2 separate regions of the Homo sapiens genome follow, and region 2 is linked to region 1. Evidence: promoter capture Hi-C in 16 types of primary human blood cells and fetal thymus (Javierre and others, 2016). All regions are on one chromosome and are shown on one strand. Each heading gives the region's core, a stretch centred on a gene start or on the middle of the fragment in contact. The rest is flanking DNA. Distances are from core to core; before and after follow the strand shown. Region 1 holds the start of ZNF597 (zinc finger protein 597). Region 2 has its middle 16 kb from the start of ZNF75A.

The links. The method cuts DNA at HindIII sites, captures the fragments that hold promoters and counts their contacts. A CHiCAGO score of 5 or more calls a contact.
Region 2: a fragment that was not itself captured here is called in contact with the fragment with the promoter of ZNF597 in region 1 in 6 of 17 cell types (M1 macrophages, total CD8 T cells, naive CD4 T cells and 3 more); the score reaches 6.5 in M1 macrophages.

What each region holds. Positions count from the first base shown.
Region 1 is chr16:3,442,136-3,444,835 of GRCh38, reverse strand. ZNF597 (zinc finger protein 597) reads left to right here and starts at 1,332. Exons shown (of 4, transcript NM_152457.3): 1 at 1,332-1,476; 2 at 1,630-1,715. The coding sequence starts at 1,683. It overlaps NAA60 (N-alpha-acetyltransferase 60, NatF catalytic subunit), which reads right to left and starts at 1,156. Exons shown (of 8, transcript NM_001083601.3): 1 at 999-1,156. RefSeq lists an enhancer at 923-1,072. The HindIII fragment of the contact is 9,083 bases long and covers 288-2,700 here.
Region 2 is chr16:3,319,788-3,322,487 of GRCh38, reverse strand. It overlaps a transcript of ZNF75A not described here. Among named protein-coding and RNA genes, the nearest start is that of ZNF75A, 16 kb to the right of the region's middle. The HindIII fragment of the contact is 2,887 bases long and covers 1-2,700 here.

The sequences.
Region 1 (2,700 bases), core at 83-2,582:
ACTAGTTTAGGATGGGTACATGACACAATACATGTCTGTATATTTTACCTGGATTCTATTGTCAACGTTACCAACATGCTTAGGGTGGCAGAGAAGCACTGGGACCTTGATGTTGTCACTGGGCCACCGAATTAACCAACCTGTAACTGCTCTTTGAACATCCTTTCGGTGGGTTTTCTGTTACTTGTAGCTGAAACTATCCTATCAGATATTCCACAAAATCACATTACCTAAGTTGTCAAATCTCCTAATATTGTTTTAATAACCATGCAGCCATTCATTAAGCTTTTAGATACAGGAATGTGCCTGGCACTGGAATAAGGAAATATGTTGAGACTTTTCAGGCTTTTCTATCAAGGTACCTATCATTTTCGTCTTTTTTTTTCCCCAAACACCTTTATAAACTGGCAATTTCTTTCACTTACATTATCTTATAATCTTTGAAATTACCCTCTGAGTTAGCCCAGAGAGGCACTCTGAGCTGTTTGCAGCTGAGGAAAGCAAAGTTGTAAACTGGCCAAGATTACCAACCAATCAGTGGCAGAGCTTGGGGAGGAGCTCAATTTTCCAATTCCAAATGCCTACACCAGGGCACTCCCTCCTCCCCCAGCACACAATAGGAAATGACTGGCTCTAGGGTAGGCTGCATGTGAGGTATCCGGGGGCGAACAACGTCCTGCGACGCTAACCTATGGCTCTATTCTCGCGTGGGATCCTGTGACTAGGAAGCTGAAGCAGCTCGCTTAGGCTGCAGCTGCGGGTACAATACGTAATGCCTCTATAACACTTTGAGTCAGAGTCCAGCAACCTGGCCTACACCGATGTGAACGTTGTGAACGTACACAAAGATACTCCTTCATGTTCCACGGCCCCACCATCCGCTCAAGACACAAAGGACAGCTCAAGCCCAGGCTAGGCCCGAACCCCCGCCCTCTCAATCACCTTGCTCTGGCCAGACCGAAATTTCAGGCCTACAGGGCACTGTTGGCCGAACCCACATTTTGTTACCGATTTTCTTTCGAGTTCCGGTGTCTCCCAGTCTTCTTTCTGTCCTTCTTCTCGGAAACATTACGTCCCCCTGGGGTCACCCTAAGACTCTACTTCAGCAGGCAAACAGGCCCGGAGCTCACGGAGGAGACCCCGCCAGCGGAAGCGGAAATGGTTGCTTAGAGAAAAGGAGGAAAACTACCTCTCGCAGCTGCCCAGTGGCTACAGGTCCTCGGTTAAGGTGTTCAATTGGTCAACACAAAAGAAGGACTTCCCCTTCGGGAGAACTTCGACCAATCAAAGGGCAGGATGGCGGAGAGGGCTGAGGGCGGGTCGCTTCCGGCGGCTTTTCCCGCAGCTCCTGCGTAAAGGAGCATGAGAGCGTGGGAGTTTTGCAGTGGCCGTGGCGTTCTTCGTCGCGTCTCGGTCGGGCGTCGCTTTCTGCAGCTCCTGTCAGGGAGCGCGAGGCCTGTTATTAACCGCGGAGCGGTAAGTGGGCCCCTTTCGAGGCCGGGCCAAGAGGAGGAGCAGTCGGCGTAGGTTTTTAAGGGGGGGTTCGGAGGGAATCGAGGGAGGCTAGGGGTAGTGGAGGAACTTGGCAGCGGAATTGGTCCCTTTAAGAACTGTTCTCTCCCCCCGCAGCTTTGTCACGAAGTCCCTGTGGCGTCTTGAAGAAGGCATTCCCCACCCGCCAAATGGCGTCCATGCCCCCGACGCCCGAGGCCCAGGTGAGTCGAGGTACCTTTTTCGTCCAAGTTTATTGCTGCTTTCGGTCTCTGCCTGACCCCCTCCTTTGGAGGAGAGTTGGGCATGCCTGTTGTGGTAGGAGTGCTCCTGAGCCCCAAATAGCCCTTTGACCAAGTGTTCTTCGTTCCAAGACCACACACATAATGGTTTACCAACTTCCTTCTTTCAGAACTACCAACTGGGAGCAGGGACCTGTGGAGGAATCTCTGAGAGAGTTTCTCAATGTCTTATCTGTTTGTTTTGTTTTGTTTGGAGATAGGGTCTGGCCTTGTCGCTGGAGTGTTGCTTGTCTGGCTGGAGTGCAGTGCTGATATCATAGCTCCGTCTGGAACTCAGGGAATCCTTACGCCTCAGCCTCTCGAGTATCTGAGAGGCGCGCATACCACAGTGTCTGGCTACTTTTAAAAGTTCTTTTTTTTTTTTTTTTGATACAGAGTCTCGCTCTGTCGCCCAGGCTGGAGTGCAGTGGCGCGATCTCGGCTCACTGCAAGCTCCGCCTCCCGGGTTCATGCCATTCTCCTGCCTCAGCCTCCCGAGTAGATGGGACTACAGGCGCCTGCCGCCACGCCCTGCTAATTTTTTGTATTTTTAGTAGAGACGGGGTTTCACCGTGTTAGCCAGGATGGTCTCAATCTCCTGACCTTGTGATCCGCCCGCCTCGGTCTCCCAAAGTGCTGGAATTACAGGTGTGAGCCACTGCGCCCGGCCTAAAACTTCTTTATGGAGATGGAGTCTTGCTGCTTTGCCAAGGAACTCCTGGCCTTCAGCTATCCTCCCACCTCGGCTCCCCAAAGTGCTAGGATTAAAAGTGACTTTCTGGAATGGTTCCCAAAATTACAGATTTGGTACTTCTCCAATTTGAATGAATTTTTAAATTAAGCACATTTCTAGACTCCACACTCGTTGAGTAATAATAAATCCCAAGTGATTAATTTATCACACCGTTAGAGAAGGTGGGGTAGGCCT
Region 2 (2,700 bases), core at 21-2,520, 120 kb after region 1:
GTACACGCATTATCAGATTTGGGTGAATCGTACAGGAGAAAAGCCTTACAGACGCTCGACTGAAGAAGGCATTTCAGTACAGCCCAACTACCATTGCCCAGTGGAGGATTAATACATGAAGGAAACCTAGGCATGTAGCAAATTTGGTTGATGTTTCAAACAGTGCCCTCATCTCGGTCCCCAGTGAACCCACACAAGAAAAAGTGACAGGTGTAGAAAAGATTCAGAAACAAAAGTATGCTTTTTGTTTGGGTGGATTTCTACTGGGACAAACAGTAGAAACGTGAAGTATGGGCAAAACTTTGTTTCCCACTTGAGGGGACTTCAGAGAGTCTACATAGGAGAGAATTCAGTCCACAGAGAATGTGGGGAGAGCTTCAGCAAGTATTTATGCACTAGAAAACCTCCAAGAGAAGAGTAACAGGGCAGCCTTCATCACACATGACAGGGAGGAGTGACCAGGAAATGCTGGAGTAAATGCTTCAGTGGCATGACTCAACAAATATTTGGAAAATCCTTTATGAACTCCCATCTTTTGTTACCAATTGTCCATTTGGATAAAAGAGGCTGCTGGGCGTTCTTCCTCAAACTTACCTGGGAAATTAAACACTGTTCTCAGTAGTTCCAAAAGTTAACAGAAACCCTAGGAGTTTTAGTTTTGAGATTTACTTTGATTCTAAGCCCCTCCTGTTCTTCCCCTCCAGTTAAAAGATATCTGAGGTTGGGCATGGTGGCTCATGCCTGTAATCTCAGTACTTTGGGAGGCCAATGCAGGAGGATCACTTGAGCTTAGGAGTTCAAGATCAGCCTGGGCAACATAGCAAGACCTCATCTCTACTAAAAGTAAAAAAATAATAACCCAGGCATGGTGGCACGTGCCTGGAGTCCCAGATACTCAGAAGGCTGAGGTGGGAGGATTGCTTGAGACTGGGAGATCGAGGCTGTGGTGAGCCCCAGCCTGGGCAACAGAGACCCTTGTCTCAAAAATAAAATATATCTGAGGTTCTCAAGGTGAGCTCAAGGTCCAGTCTGCTTAACGGCAGGGAGAACTCTAGGTCTGGGATGGTCCCAGCACTGAACTTAGACTAGTGCAGGGGACAGGTCAGGAGACTAGACGGGGTCAATGATACAGTTCTCTGAAATAACCGTGAAGCCACGGTAAGGCTGCTATCTGAACATGCTAAAATAAAGCATCCTTCTTGTTTCCTGGAAATCATCTGCCGGTTTATGGAGGACATATTTGTGCATTTAGTACTAATTAGTGCATTTAGTACTAATGTTTAAGGCTAAACCTAGGATTATGTGTCTCTCATTTCATTTTTAAAGCAAGCCTCAATAGATTTTAATATCATGGTTTAAGTAATTTGTTCTCATATCATCTGATATCATTTTAGTAATCCAATCTCATCTCAAGCTACAGAAATCCCTTCTTCCACTCCCCACCCCACAAATTCCAAGGTTGTTATGAGACATCATGTTATGTGCAGCAGCTGGGTACTGGCTAAGCTACGACTTTCCCCCTGGAGGATTCTCACTCCACAGGTGGAACTGTCTTGCTCCTGCCTCCCTGCCCAAGTTTCTCCCCAGTTGTCCGTCATCCCTTAGTCCAGGAAGATAGCCACCTTACTGTCTACACTGATCTGGACAAATTTGCTTTTGCCCTATATCTCATCTGTTTTCTGAGGCACAACTCACTGAAGATACAACAGAGGTAGTTAACAAACCATTCTTTGAAATCTCCTGCATGCATATGAGGAAGGCAATCCCTACCCCCTAACCCCCACCATAGCCCATTCATCAATAGCAATGCCTGTTTTGTGCATGAGGCAACGCGCAGGGAGACAAAGAATAAGGGAAGTGGAATAAGGCCAGATAGGGAAGGAGGGTTGCCTTGTCCCCTTGAACTGACCTCCCATAAGATTTGTCCAAGACAGCAATGTCTTTCTTCCCTATCATCTACAGTCTTGGGAGGTCTTAAGTGGTCCCATTAGTGTTGCATCAGCTCAGTTTAGTATCCACGGGAAGCCAGGTCTCTTTTGAGGGCCAAAGGCTAGGCAGAATGAAAATGGAAAGGTCCAGAGCTCCAGCAAAACAGTCACTCCCCCAGCTGCCCTTTTCCAAGCTCTATTAAGATAGGCCAGGTTGGCCAGGTGCGGTGGCTCACGCCTGTAATCCCGGCACTTTGGGAGGCCGAGGCGGGTGGATCACGAGGTCAGGAGACCAAGACCATCCTGGCTAACAAGGTGAAACCCCATCTCTACTAAAAATACAAAAATTAGCCAGGCGTGGTGGCGGGTACCTGTAGTCCCAGCAACTTGGGAGGCTGAGGCAGGAGAATGGCATGAACCCAGGAGGCGGAGCTTGCAGTGAGCTGACATTGCGCCACTGCACTCCAGCCTGGGCAACAGAGCGAGACTCCGTCTCAAGAAAAAAAAAAAAGATAGGGCAGGTTATGCTACAGAAACACATAGCACCAATGTCTCAGTGATTTAACAGAACAAATGTTTATTTCTTGTTCTCACAAAGTTCACTATAGGTCTGGAGACTCTTGGGAATAGCCGCCCTCCATGCAGTGGCTCAGTGTTCTGGACTGCTTTGATTTCATGGCTGCTCTCTCTGTATGTGGTTCCATGATTAAGGCAGGAAAGGAGAGCACTGGCCTTGTACCAGCAAAAAAATAAAAAAAAAAATAAAAAAAAA